Regions from separate parts of the Homo sapiens genome. Here region 2 is linked to region 1. The links are contacts of gene promoters, found by promoter capture Hi-C in human tissues and cell types (Jung and others, 2019). All regions are on one chromosome and are shown on one strand. Each heading gives the region's core, a stretch centred on a gene start or on the middle of the fragment in contact. The rest is flanking DNA. Distances are from core to core; before and after follow the strand shown. Region 1 holds the start of SEMA3F (semaphorin 3F). Region 2 overlaps RBM6 (RNA binding motif protein 6).

Region 1 (7,319 bases), core at 4,491-6,990:
AATCTGCTCTGAAGAATTCCACCAGGGAAGGGTGGAGGTATCAGCAGAATAAATATCTCACCTTCCTGGGGCCCGGGGAAGGGGGGTGCTTTCCAGCCCAAACAAATTAACTCTTCTCAGCCCATTTCTCAGGCCCTGCAGGGGACTCCTTCCAGGCACAGCCTCAGAAATTCCAGGAGCCGGGTGACTGGGAAGAGTGATGATAAGCAGCTTACTCCCCTACTCCTCCCATCAAGGGGCAGGGTGGGACGAGGCCAGGGGAGGGGCCCTGCTGGGGGACATGGTGAGGTGAGGGCTGGGCCTCCGCCAAGCCCGAGGAAGGAAAGGTCACCCCAGCCTTTCACCCCAGTATGGCTGCCCGGAAATCTGGCCAGCCAGGGCTGAGTCGACCCCACCCAGGGCAGGCGGCTGGATGAAGTTACCTCTGGCCAGAGGAGGGCCAAGGCTGAGAACTCCCAATGACCCCAGGTCCCCCAGGCCCCAGCATGGCCACTGCCCCTCACCCTGGGCCCAGGGGAGACTCTTCAGACCACACACACCCTTGAGGAAGTGGCTCTCGAGTGAGCCATTTGTACACCCATGTGTGTACCGTGTGCGTGCACCTGTCCAGTGGGTTAAGTGCAATGGTGATGGAGCGGGCGACCAGCCTCTCACTCTGCAGACCCCAGCCCATCACTGAAACCTCCCAGTGACTTCTCATCAAAGTGCTCACTGGAGCTCAGGAGCTCAGGCCCTCACAGCAGCACGTGCTCTGCCTGAACCCACCGGCGGCCTCCCTGCCAGTCACAGCCAACAGTCCCCTCCTGGATTCTAGGAACCCTTCCCACTTGGAGACCATAGGAAGGCTCCTCGAGCACCCACACCCCAAGAGAGCAGGTCCTGCTCTTCCAGTGTCCAGAGGTTCCAGTGTCTGCCCAACTGCCTGACCTTCCACCCCAGGGGCTGCTCAGGGCAGGACCAGATGCATAGCAGTGGCAAGGAGGGGCCGCAGCAGACATAAGTTTGGAAGGAGTGACATTGCCACCTCTCCAATTATCATACAGAAAGACATGCCCTACAGACCTCAGGCCACCCAGCCCAGGAACCCACAGTCTGACTCTGGAAGATGCCCAGACTCTGGACTCTTTTGCTAAGTGTCTAAATGGGTCAGTTCTCCAGCCTTTCCCAGCAAGCCACCACCTCCCCGGTCTCCCTTCTCCCCCACAACCTATGTGGCTGTACAATTTGTCCTGGTTTTGTCCTGACCCACCCTTTCTCTCGTGTGCAGAGGAGCCGAGCGCTATTGTAAAGAGAGGATGATTTCTGGGGAAGAACAAAACAGCTTCTTACCTTTGAATGAGAGCCGGACCCGGGGCGTGGCCGGGAGGTGGTCCTGGGTGGGGAAGGATGGCCAGGCCCCGGTCAGTAGGGAAGCCCAGAGAAGAAGACCGGCGACAAGCATTGTGGGAGGGGCCTAGGGCCCAGGAAGCAGGCTCCACTCTCTAGAAACCTGGGAAGGGGAACCAAGATTGGAATGTGTGAGGCAGATGGGGGAGTTCAATTTCTACCCAAGGTGAACAAAGAGGTTGATGGGTACCTCCACGCTTCCACCCCCAGCCTGGGGCCATGAATGCCCCTGTGTGCACACCTCATGTGCGTTCTTTGGCCTGCCTTTGTCTGGGGAGATAGTACCAATAGGCCCCAGCCTGGGGTCACCAGAACTGATGGGGGCTGCTGGAGACTCAAACCCTACCCCTCATGGCATGCTGAATTCCATTCACAGGGCCCAGACCAACCAGGTGATCTTAGGGCTCTTTCCAGCTCCCAGCATGCTTTCTCCTTTCTCCCCTGCATCTGTGGCCAATAAAGTGGGTTACTCCTTCTCCCTCCCACCTGGAGGAATGGGGAACAGATAGGGTGCATCCCTGCCTGCTCCAGCCACAGGTCTTCTCCCAGTACAGAGAAACCTGGACCTGATTATTACGGTAGAGGGGAGGCACAGGAGAGAGTGGGGGAATGAGACACATGCAGACAGCCCAAGATGGAAGAGAGGGAGCACCAGTCAGAAAAGGAAAGGCAGAGAATGGCAGAGTCCACTTGTACTAAAATCAAAGCAGGAGAGACCCAGGTCAGACAGGCAGAAGGACTTCCTGCCAGGGAAAACTTCCAGCTCCGCCTCTAGAGGGCAAAGAAGGGAAGCTAGGATGGCCAGTGGGCCTGGGGCTGGATCTGGGCCAGCGGCATTGCCACCTTCAGAATCCCCCATAGCCCCAGCAGGTCCAAGTTTCAATACTGTGTTTTTCAAATATTGTCTCCCCAGGCAGGCTGGCTGTTGGGTAAACGCAGCCCAGCACCAGTTGTCAGAACATATTGCTCCCTCCCGGCACAAACCAGCGCCAACTCCTACCACCACCCCCAACCGGATGCACTGCGGGTGGGGGCATCGAGACTGAAAATGTGAGCCCCATCCCCCAGATCTGCCCTGTGTACTCCCTTCTTCCGTGGCAGGCAGGACCCCAGGCCCATCTCTAGGATGCTGGGATGGGAGTTGGCAGTACTATGGCCTGGGACTCCCCTGCCATAGCTGCTCAATGCTGAGGCAAAGCCCAGGCTCCAGTCTGACTCTTAGGCCCCACTCATTAGACCCTGATGACATCCCTAGACCCACCTCCCCCAGCCCTGGCCTCTCCTGCCAAGGCAAACCACTCATGGCTCCTCAGACAGGAAGTGCAGCTTCAGCCTCTTGGCCCACTCCTTACGCGGTACCCTCTGTGTGAATGTTCTCTCCCGAGGGCCTGGCACACCGCTCATGGTCCTTCCAGATCCCCTGTCATAGATGCTGCCTCCTGGGGAGGCTAGCTGGGGGATGGGGGAATCAGAACCAGCCCCTCCTCAGGTCTGGGAGGCACAAAGCTAGTGCTGACTGAATGGCAGGCTCTGAGAAGTGGGGGCAGGTGGGAGAAATGGCTGTGCAGCCACCGTCACCCTCAAGGTGCACCTGGGAGGCCCCTGATAACAGCTGTGGATATGCACACGTTCACACTTGCAGGCCCACACACGTCCTTACAAGCATGAGTTTGCTCAAGAACTTGACCTGCTAGTGGGGTGGGGCTCAGGGGAGCTGGGAGATACTGTCCTGGCGCAAGATGCCGTCTGAGTCCCTCAGAGAGCTTCGATACTATGTAACGGGGGCTCCTGTCAACCTGCCTCCCGCCTCCCCCCTCCCCATGACCTCATTTTTTCCTTCATCCATGTTCATGGTGACAAAGTCAGTGTCACCAAGGACAGGGTTGGAGTCACCCAATGTGTCCAGAGAGGTGGGGAGTCTTTCTACTGGGTCCCTACAGGGACTTCCCATCCAAATGCTTTGGCCTTTTAAAGAGGTGAATGGGGAGGGGCTCAAGTTTGCTGGGGCCTCAGTCTCAAGTCCAGGTCCCCTCTTGGACAGCCTGGCAGGTGGGGGAAAGAAGGAGAGGGAAGGAAGAAAAGGAGAAGAAGGACAGAGAGGGAAAGAAAGGGCAAACCCACAGTGCCTTCCCCTCTGCCAGTCCCGAGATGCCTGTCACCCAGCCCCAGCCCCAGAAAAGCCCCCAAGTCACACCAAGCCCAGGTCAGTGGACAGAGGAAGAACAGCCACCGCCACCTGGGAGCCCACCAGGAAGAAAGCAGAGAAGGAGGGAAGGAAGGCTGGTGGGAGGGAGCAAGGGAGGGAGGCAGGCGGGAGGGAGGAGGAGAGAGGGAGGAGAGAGGGAGGGACGGAGGAGAGACGCTTGAACAAAGAAACGAGGAGCCGGGGCTGGCAAGGGGTGCAGGGAAGAGGCGGCCAGAGGAAGGAGTCCGGAGGCACCTGGGATGGGACAGGGGGCCAGGTGGCCAAACTGTACAGCCGGATCCAGACCGCCCAGGCTTGGAGTTGGGGGTGGGGGTGGACAGCCTGTCTCCAGGAAGGGAGGTTGGCTCCTCCGAGCTGAGGACTGCCTGGATGGAAGGGAGGCAGGAACAGGGGCCGTAGGGGAACATGGGGAGATTATCAACAGCACCCCACCCGCTACCCAGCCCCTCAGATTCCCTCCCCCACTTCAACAAGAGCTCTGTCTCCTTCTTGGCTCCTCAGCTTCCCCATCCCCCAACACCTCAAGGACCAGGAAGCAGAGCCACCCCAGCATAGCTGGGACTGAAACCCCCCTTTTGTGGCCAGGGTTTCCCAGTCAAGGTCACCTGAGCCTGGCTCCATCCTCCCCCCAAGGTATGCTGAGCAGCGAGGGGCTGAGGCTGGGTGGGCTGCCGCCTTCTCTCTGGCCCCTGCTTTCTCTCCGGCCCCCACCTCCCCACTTCCGGGCCTGGCTCCTTCGGAGCTGAAGGGGGAGCAGCAGGAGTAGGCATGCCTGTGCCCCCCGCCTGCCTAGACACTATACCCTACGGGGTCCTGGCACACCCCTTGGGTAGCCTGGGAAGAGGCCTCAGCTCCATCCAACTCCCTGGGCTGAGATGGGGCTCCCAACCCCTGGGTGCAGTTTTCCCTTCTCTGCAACTAGGATAACTACTGGGAGACTATCTGGGTGAATTCAGGAGGACAGAGGTCCCCAACCTGGCCCAGCTTCAGGGTGGACATACTGGTGTCTTTGGTTGGCGTCTCCCTTACCTCTCCCAAGCAGTAATGTTCTGGTGGCAAAACACAGCTATCTCAAAAATTAGGAGTTATTTATCCAGTGGGGCCCCCAGCCCCAGCTCCAGCCAACTCCCGCCAGCACTGCCTCATTCCTAGGCCAACTTTGATACCCTCCTGTCCCATCTGCTGGGGGCAACCCCGCCAAGCCCCCGCTGTCCCCTGCCCACTTCACCACTGGGACCCCTGGTTCAAACTAGGGATTGACCGCAGGCTCTCCAAGCTCACCTACACACTACATACAGCCGTGCCCCTAATCCAGGCAGGACTCTGCTGTAAAAGCAAACCCAAGGTGGCAGCTGGGGGTCAAGGGGCTGGCACAATGCTGGGAGAAATGCCTCAGGACTGGAGGTCCTCCCACTCTGCTGATGTGGGAGACCCCCCACGTGGGGACTGCCAGTATACCGCTTCCCTTCGGGCTGGCCAGTCCTCAAGTAGAGACACTGAGGTAGGGCAAGCGCATCTACGGGGAAGAGCGCTGCCTCGGGCGTTAATGGGAGAGAGAGCTGAGGCAGAAGGGGGATCGGAACTCCCGCTCCAGAAGCGTGAAGGTGGGGGTGTATGAGAGCACCCACCCAGAACCTTGCAGGAAAAAGTTGCTTTGCACATGGGTGACCCCGCAGGCCACATCATCCACACATCCATACGCCGCCCCGTAGGTAAGGGGTCCGGGCCTCCAGGACAGGTAAGAATCCCACCCCAGCCTTGTTGCCCCTATGTCCGCGGGCAGCCCCCCGGCTCGACGAGACCCGCTCCCCGGACACTTCTGCGGAGTTGCAGTGCCGCGGGTCCCAGAGGGGTCGCGGGGTGGCCCGGCCGCCTGCCCGCTCCCTCCCGGTTCCCGCTGCACTCACCTCTTCCGCAGCGGCGGGGCCTGGGCGCCCGGGCGGCGGCGGCGGCACGGAGCGGCTCCCGTTGGGCCGGTCCGCGCTAGCGGCCCCCCGGGGCCATGGCCCTGCCCGCGACCTCTCGCCGCTGCGCCTCAGCCGGGATCGGCGCCGCGGCCGCGGCTTAACCGGTTCCGCGGGCTTCGGGCGCGTCAGCAGCCGAGGGCCCGGGCCCCAGCCCGGGCCATGGGAAGGCTCAGGGGCGCTCGGGGCCGCCTCCCCTGGGGTGGGCTGCGGGCGCCCCCTGGCCGGCGCGCCGAGGGCGCATTCCCCAGCGCGGGGCGCGGGCGGTGGCGCGCACTCGGCTTCGAAGCGCTGCGCTCTCCTGGCTGCTGGACCCGGGCCGGGCGGCCGCGCTGGGCTGCACGGTTCCTCGCGGCGTACCCAGGTCCTGCGCTGCGCTCGGGGCTCTCCGGACCGCCGCGGTTCGTTCGCTCGCTCTGGTCTCGCGGCCGCCGGCGGGACGGGGCGCTCAGAGCCGCGCGGGGAGCGCCGGCAATTGGCCGCCCGTGGGCGACATTTGCATAGCGCAGCCCCGCCCCGCCCGGCCCGCCCAGCCCCACCCCCGGGGCGGGACCCGCCCAGCCACCGCCCCGCCCCCGCTCCACCTGTCCGTGGGCCGGGCTCAGGGTTCCCAGGCGGTGGGCACCCCGCGCCGGGGGAGACTAGTCTGCACCCCTCGCCCCCGCCCCCGCTTCGCGGGCGGCGCCCCCGCCCCGCCCTGGCTTTGTCTCTCTGTGAATACACCGCACACATCGCGCCTGGTGTTTACCCGGGCATTCAACTCCCTGGCGAGAAGGGCTGCAGCGCCAGGGAGCAACGAGCCTGCGCTCACCTGAGCACCCCCTTCCGCGTCCCTCATTCCCACTCGCCGCCGGCCGTGCCCCTGGTCCCGTGCGTGGGCCCCGCGGCGCAGGACCCCTGACTGCCCGGGCTGCTCAGCAGGTGGCGGTGCAGCCCCTGGGACGGCTGGCACCGCCGGACCTTCCCGCGGGCTCAGCCTCCAGCCTAGGCCAGGTCGGGGGCAGCCCAGCCACACAGCTCTCTCCAGCCATTCAACGACTCCCCGTGATCGCCTCAATCGCCAGCCCTTATTTCAGGCCAGCAGCTCCCACAGACTCTCCTTATAGTTCCATACCTTAGAGAGGCCAGATCAGCTAGCACCTTCTCTCCTCAAGGGGACATTTGCTTTCAAATGGCCTGGTGATGAGCCAATGGCTCAGCAACTGAGAAGGGCCTACCGTGACCCCAGGAAGGGACCCTCTGCCCAACCCAACTTTCCAAGGTCATGGCCTCACCACCAGGACCACTTCTCAGCCCTGCCCCGGGCACCCTGCGGAGGCTCCCAGGGGCGTTGGCCCTTTGTCCTCTCCTTCATCCTCTTCCTGTTCTGTCTTCTGTGCCCTCCTCTTTCTCCTCTTTCCTTTCTCCTCTTCTCCCTCTGCCTCTCCTTCCTTCTCCCCTCTCTTCTCCCTCTTCCTCTCTCCTCTTCTCCCTCTTTTCCATCTCCCTCCTTTTCCTCCTTCTCCTCTCTTCTCCTGGATTTTTCCTTCTCTGCCCTCTCCTCCTCTCCCTTCTCTTCCTCCACCCCATGCATTTCCTTCTCTTCTTCCTCCTCCTTCTTCCTGCTCTTTACCCTCTTCCTCCTTTCTCTTTTTCTTCTCACTCCTCCTCTCCGCCTTCTTCCTCCTCCCACTTCTCTCCCTGGCTAGCAAGACCTCCAGGAAAAGACCTCTCTCCCTCTGACCCATTGACTGGTTGACTCCAAGTGCAAGGTGGAGCTGGGC
Region 2 (6,980 bases), core at 4,456-6,955, 100 kb after region 1:
GCCACAGGAATCTATAAATACTTTGAGGAAAAAGAGGAAATGTTTTATCATCAAATATAAAACCATCTGTGGCTGGACAAAATAAATCAGAAAGTTCACTAAAATCATGAAGGATTCAGTACTCAGATTCTTCACAAGCGAGTAAGTTGGAAACAGTAAATGACACAAGAAAAAAATGAACCTAGAAAACCAGACGGGATCCTAACTTTTGAGGGCTGTCACCTGACCTGAATGAACAATAAACCCAAAGGAGAGAGCAAGAGGGATTATGATATCAGGTAGCACACAAGAATTCAAATGATCAAGAAGTCCCTCAAATTTTTTTTTTTTTTTTTTGAGACAGAGTCTCGCTCTGTCACCCAGGCTGAAGTGCAGTGGCGCGATCTCGGCTCACTGCAAGCTCCGCCTCCGGAGTTCACGCCATTCTCCTGCCTCAGCCTCCCGAGTAGCTGCGACTACAGGCGCCTGCCACCACGCCCAGCTAATTTTTCTGTATTTTTTAGTAGAGACAGGGTTTCACCGTGTTAGCCAGGATGGTCTTGATTTCCTGACCTCGTGATCCACCCACCTCGGCCTCCCAAAGTGCTGGGATTACAGGCGTAAGCCACCAGGCCCGGCCCCCAGTCAAACCTTCTTGAAGGTTCTTTAGCCATCTGTCTCTAGGCCAATCCAAGGTGGAGGAAACTCACCGCATGGGAGTCGAGGTCAATAAAGCCATAGGTATGCCCCATAGGGCCTGTTCTGTTCTTGATGATACGGACGTTGGCAGTAGTAAGGCGGACATAGGGCTCCAGCACTTCCACTATCACCTCAGGTGGTGTGGAACGATAGATACGCTTTAGCATGATAGCTGAATCAACCATAAATGGGAGAAGGGCAACACAAGGGAGAGAAAGATAAATTTTTGAAGTCCCAAGAATCTGACTGTCATTTTTTACTATAGATGCTACTAGCAAGGCTGGTTCTGTAAAAAAATGCTAAACAAATAAATACTGCATACTTTTCTTCACCAATACTTAGAAATCTAAAATCATGCCTTACTGCATTCATATAGCAATTTACTATTTGAAGGGCATAGATTCCTTTAAGCAGTACAGGAAGGTCCACAGACAGCAATGGCCTCTGTCATCAGGTCATGCACAGATCTCTCAGGGTACTGGAAAGCAGATAGCTCCCGGACATAACATTGGCCATCTATGCTCCATTGTGATGATCACAGTCTGGTATGTGCCCTGACAAACTACTTACTTTTGCTCTCTCCATCCTGGCGTGTCTCTCCAGACCATGACTCCCTCTCTCGGTCTCTTCGGAAAGTTGGCCCTTCCCTTCGAGAAGGAGGCAGATACCTTTCTGCTTCTCTCTTTTGATGTCCTAAGCGTGACTCTTGGCCTTCTTCCCTCTTCCTGGGTTCAGGTTCCTTATCAGCTGGTCTTAGGGGCTGGTTGGGCTGTTTTTCCAATGGTGCTGGTATGGATGTTTTCTGAGGCTGAGGGTAGGTTATTAATTCTTGCTTGGCCTCTGTCACTAGTGGAACAGAAACAAAGAGAATCTCTAGAAAGCTTTATCAAAAAAAAAAAAAAAGAAAAAACACTGCTACTGTAATTTCTCCTTACCTGCCAGCAAATACTCATACTGGAATGCCTTTTTTTTTTTTTTTTTTTTTTGAGACGGAGTTTTGCTCTTGTTGCCCAGCTGAAGTGCAATGGCATGATCTTGGCTCACTGCAACCTCTGCCTCCCGGGTTCAAGCGATTCTCCTGCCTCAGCCTTCAGAGTAGCTGGGATCACAGGTGCCCACCACCACGCCCAGGTAATTTTTTGTATTTTTAGTAGAAACGAGGTTTCACCATGTTGGCCAGGCTGGTCTCGAACTCCTGACCTCAGGTGATCCACTTGCCTCGGCCTCCCAGAGTGCTGGGATTACAGGTGTGAGCAAACACGCCCGGCCTGGAATGCTTTTAATATTATCTCAGAAATATCTAATAAAAAGTCCTCTGACAGTTCCTGACAAAATATTTTAAGTGAAGCTGAGACAGGACATGAAATAGTTCACAGAAGAAACTATCCAAGCATTTAAAAAATGTAATCTTATGAAATCTCTATATCACCTACTAAACATTTAAATATAACAAATCCTTCATGACACCTTGAACCTGACTATCATAATCAATGATAACAACACATCTGGGGACAAAATTACCGAAGATATGGCCCTTACTTAAGGTTTAGTAGAAACACATATCCCAAACACACATCTAGAAGCCTTGCTTCTTCCAGTGTTACAGTGCTCAAACAGCTACTCATATCCTGTAAGACCACAGGCCCTCCTCCAGTGAAGCTAGGAACAGACCCTATCTGCACGTAGCTCCTTTATATGCAAATAAACATAATGGGCAGACGTCCTTCAAAATATAAATGATTTATTTCAAATGTCCTACTACAGCAGGATAATTTGTCTTTATAGTTTGTTTTATAATTAGGGGCACATTCTTGTAACTAATTCATTCTTGGAGGGTTCACTGGAATCCATGTGGCTCAAAAAGAGGTATTATATGAGAGCAATATAGAGATTACATAATAGCAGTGACAGGTTTCCAGATTAAAGCTGTCTCATCTTAGTGGTATGGTGCCCAGTGGTTTTCATACACTATCTATTCATGGCCGGGAGCGGTGGCTCACGCCTGTAATCCCAGCACATTGGGAGACTGAGGCGGGCAGATCACGAGGTCAGGAGATCGAGACCATCCTGGCTAACACAGTGAAACCCTGTCTCTACTGAAAATACAAAAAATTAGCTGGGCACGGTGGCGGGTGCCTGTAATCCCAGCTACTTGGGAGGCTGAGGCAGGAGAATGGCGTGAACCTGGGAGGCAGAGCTTGCAGTGAGCCGAGATTGCGCCACTGCACTTCAGCCTGGGTGACAGAGCAAGACTCCGTCTCAAAAAAAAAAAGAAAAAAAACAAAAAACTATCTATTCATTTGCTGGAATAGCTTTGAAAAAAAGTGTTTCTTGTGGGGGGAAAAAAACACAACTTTGCCTAACCTGAAGTGACCTAACAAGCAAAAATCTCAGTTGTTCATCCTCCTTCCCACATTTTGGTTTGGTTTCTAGAACATACACAGCCTTCCCCTAAAGATTTTCAGAACACCTGCCTTTCAGTCTTCACCAGAGTAAAATCTCCACAAGAGGACAAAAGCCCACCTAAGAAACTCCTTGTAGGCACATTAAACTCTAACCTTGCAACAAACAGAAGGCTACCTGAATCCCTGCACTGAACTATATTTTATGGTCATGCTGTGGCTTTCCTTAAGGGATGACTACAGGACTGTTGTTATGGATGCATGTGTCTGACTCTTCGAAGTTGCCTACCTGAAATTTCTCTAAAGAAATTTACATTAAAGATAAGTGCTTGAGAAGCTGGTAGTTTTATTCCTCTAAAATAATAAAATGTTCCCCACATCCTGATTATTTTCTCCTATTTATGTTTTTACTGTTATTTTAACAAATGTTTTTCTCTTGAAAATCCTGAAATGCTTACAGAATGTAAAAGAGAAAACAATAGAGCAAATGATTCCCAATAACTTCAAAGAAGTAGGAGTGGGAGAAAGGTTTGCCACACAGACTGATGTCATAAAGACTCTTTTTCAACCTAACATCCTTAATCCTTAAATGTATTCCAAATAACAATATACTGACCTCTGCTCAGCTGCCCACTTAGCCACTTTAGCCTAGGAGCCCACAACCCTATCTCTTTCCTCTGGTGAAAATAAGATCTGAAATCATTTACTAACAGGTTACGTTAAGTTGGGCACCAAACTGCAATTTTTTTTTTCTCACTCTGTTGCCTAGGCTGGAGTGCAGTGGCGAGATCTCAGCTCACTGCAACCTCTGACTCCTGGGTTCAAGCGATTCTAGTGTCTCAGCCTCCCAAGGAGCTGGGATTCCAAGCATGTGCCACCACACCTGTGGCTAATTTTTGTAATTTTAGTAGAGACAGGGTTTCGGCATGTTGGTCAGGCTGGTCTTGAACTCCTGACCACAGGTGATCCACCTGCCTTGGCCTCCCAAAGTGCTGGGATTACAAGCGTTAGCCACCATGCCTAGCTCAAATTGCACTTTTGAAAGGTTTGGGCCGGTCGTGGTGGTTCACGCCTGTAATCGCAGCACTTTGGGAGGCTGAGGCAGACAGATCACGAGGTCAGGAGATCGAGACCATCCTGGCTAACACGGTGAAACTCCGTCTCTACTAAAATACAAATAATTAGCTGGGCATGGTGGTGGGCGCCTATAGTCCCAGCTACTAGAGAGGCTGAGGCAGGAGAACAGCGTGAACCTGGGAGGCGGAGCTTGCAGTGATCCGAGATTGCGCCACTGCACTCCAGCCTGGGTGAGTACGAGACTCTGTCTCAAAAATAAATAAATAAATAAAGGTTTGCAGGCCTTGTGCAGTGATTCACACCTGTAATCCCAGCACTATGGGAGGCCAAGGTGGGTCGGGTCACAAGGTCAGGAGTTCAAGGCCAGCCTGACCAACATGGTGAAACCCCGTCTCTACTAAAAATACAAAAAAATTAGCCGGGCTACAGGGCGTGGTGGCACATGCCTGGAATCCCAGCTAATCAGGAGGCTAGGGCAGGGGAATCGCTTGAACCTGGGAGCTGGAGGTTGCAGTGAGCCAAGATGGTGCCACTGCACTCCAGCCTGGGCAACACAGCGAGACTCCATCTCAAAAAAAAAAAAAAAGGTTTGTAGATCAACTTGGATTTAGGGATGATAATTCTTCAAAGCCAAGGAAAACATGAAATTTGTTTTGCTCAATGCACGAGATAAAAACTGCTACCACTTTCGCCACTCACCTTCTCTTGGGTTCTTGCAGAATGAACAGGAAGATCGGTGCCCACCAATGTTTGCCTTACACTGTAAGGAAGAAGGAAATCAATTTGACTGAAAACATTTTTAAAAATCTTATGTATATCTAACAAAGTGAAACCCCCCAAAAATGAAAGAAACAAGCCATATCCCAGATCCCCTCAAAGCTTAAAAAAAGAATCTGATATTCCCCACTGATTAGAGCTGGCAGATGGGATCTGATGAGCTACTGTTTGAGAGCTACCTTATAACAAGGCATCTGGGACTTTGGTGCAGCCCAAATGCCTTTGCCCTGGATAAAGATTCCTATAGGAAATATGCCTAGAAAACTACTGTTACATGGTTTATAGAATATTATTGTCCCAAAGCCATTTACAGTCTGCACCCAAAACTTGGGCCTGAACTGACTATGAGATCCCCATTCACATTTGGCTAGAACTGAGAATTCAGTTATCAACTCCTTTCTCAAACACTGATAATGAGGTACAAGGTAGGAGGAAGAGATACAGATAGTGTCTCTGGCAGCTATCTAAAAGACATTGAAAGGGAACATTCACTAGCCCAGAATAAGGTAAGAGACATTTTTAATGTGAATGTAATTATTTTTGTCTGAACATGTGAACAAAAAGTCAAGCACACTGCCCAACCCCGAAATCCCTGAACTTTTGCCACTGAGCTTCCAAATGCCATGGGGGCAGAAACTTGGTTGGCAGGAAATAAAAGAGTAAGAACTATAAAGAGGATGGTATTTGAGGAGGGCCTTATAGGGCGAGTAAAGGTCTGCCAGATGGAGTTGAGGAGAAAACAATAACAATAGTAGCAGTGGCTAATTCTTTTTTTTTTTTTCTTTTGAGACGGAGTTTCACTCTTGTTGCCCAGGCTGGAGTGCAACGGCATGATCTCGGCTTACCACAACCTCCACCTCCCGGGTTCAAGCGATTCTCCTGCCTCAGCCTCCCGAGTAGCCGGGATTACAGGCATGTGCCACTACACCTGGCTAATTTTGTATTTTTAGTAGAGGCAGGGTTTCTCCATGTTGGTCAGGCTGGTCTCGAACTCCCGACCTCAGGTGATCTGCCCGCCTCGGCCTCCCAAATTGCTGGGATTATAGGTGTGAGTCACTGCGCCCAGCCGGCTAATTCTTAAATAGTACATACCATGTATTTGGCCTACTGTATATGTCATCACTTATTGATCCTGACAACCCCAATAAACTTCATGAAATGGGTACTCTTATCTCCTCATTTTGTAGATGAGGAAACTGAGGCCTAGAGAGGTTAACTCACTTGAGGAAGATCACTACAGTCAGTTATTTCATTGTTCCCTTCCCTATAAACAGATTATAAACACACACACACACACACACACACACACACACACACACACACACACACACCCCTGCCCACTGCCAAATGGCTGTTATGCCTTCCCACAGGGTGAGTATACTTCCTCTCTCCATTGTCAGCCTTGGCCATGTGCCTTCCTTGCTTTCACCAATAAAACATGAGTGAACATGACCTACACTAGGTCTAAGAGAAGCCTTAGGAGCCACTGCTTGCGTGAATGAACCTCTCTCTCCCTTAGCCAGAGGGACACTGCCCCATATTGAGACTGTTTCTTCCGCCTGGGTCCTGGGATGAGAAGCCACGTGGAACAGAACTGTAGCAAACAACCCATAGTCCCTGACATGTAATGTGAGTGAAGAATATGCTTGCTGTTTTAAGCTACTGGGATTGGAGAGTTGTTACTACAGGAGAGCTGCTGTGGTAACTGGTGCTATTTGTAAACATATAGATCAACAGAATAAAACTGAGAATCTAGGAATAAACCTATAGATTATGGTCAACTGATTTCTAACAATGGGGAAAGTGCCAATGGGGAAAGAATAGTCTCTTCAACAAATGGTGCTGGGACAACTGAGTATATACATGCCAACGAATAAAGTATGTGACACTTCAGTTAGTGAGTGGCAGTTAGGATCCTAACCTTAGTAGGTATAATTTAAATAGCATAAAACAGGCCTGGCATGATGGCTCATGCCAGTAATCCCAGTACTTTGGGAGGCCGAGGAAGTTGGATCATTTCGGGCCAGGAGTTCAAGACCAGCCTAG

What was found. Contacts are between HindIII fragments. The study calls those that stand out against the background at their distance.
Region 2: a fragment that was not itself captured here is called in contact with the fragment with the promoter of SEMA3F in region 1 in 2 of the 25 tissues and cell types used here (bladder and neural progenitor cells).

The regions. Positions count from the first base shown.
Region 1 is chr3:50,153,745-50,161,063 of GRCh38, reverse strand. SEMA3F (semaphorin 3F) reads right to left here and starts at 5,740. Exons shown (of 19, transcript NM_004186.5): 1 at 5,500-5,740; 2 at 1,330-1,489. The coding sequence starts at 1,441. LOC124909484 (basic proline-rich protein-like) reads right to left here and starts at 6,394. Exons shown (of 2, transcript XM_047449434.1): 1 at 6,368-6,394; 2 at 5,275-6,003. The coding sequence starts at 6,394. The coding sequence ends at 5,275. SEMA3F-AS1 (SEMA3F antisense RNA 1) reads left to right here and starts at 4,979. Exons shown (of 4, transcript NR_135301.1): 1 at 4,979-5,330. RefSeq lists silencers at 5,756-6,225, 6,256-6,395, 6,406-6,465. The HindIII fragment of the contact is 29,271 bases long and covers 1-7,319 here.
Region 2 is chr3:50,052,272-50,059,251 of GRCh38, reverse strand. RBM6 (RNA binding motif protein 6) reads right to left here. Exons shown (of 21, transcript NM_005777.3): 8 at 4,857-4,917; 9 at 1,249-1,524; 10 at 690-850. Among named protein-coding and RNA genes, the nearest start is that of RBM5, 33 kb to the left of the region's middle. The HindIII fragment of the contact is 4,814 bases long and covers 3,299-6,980 here.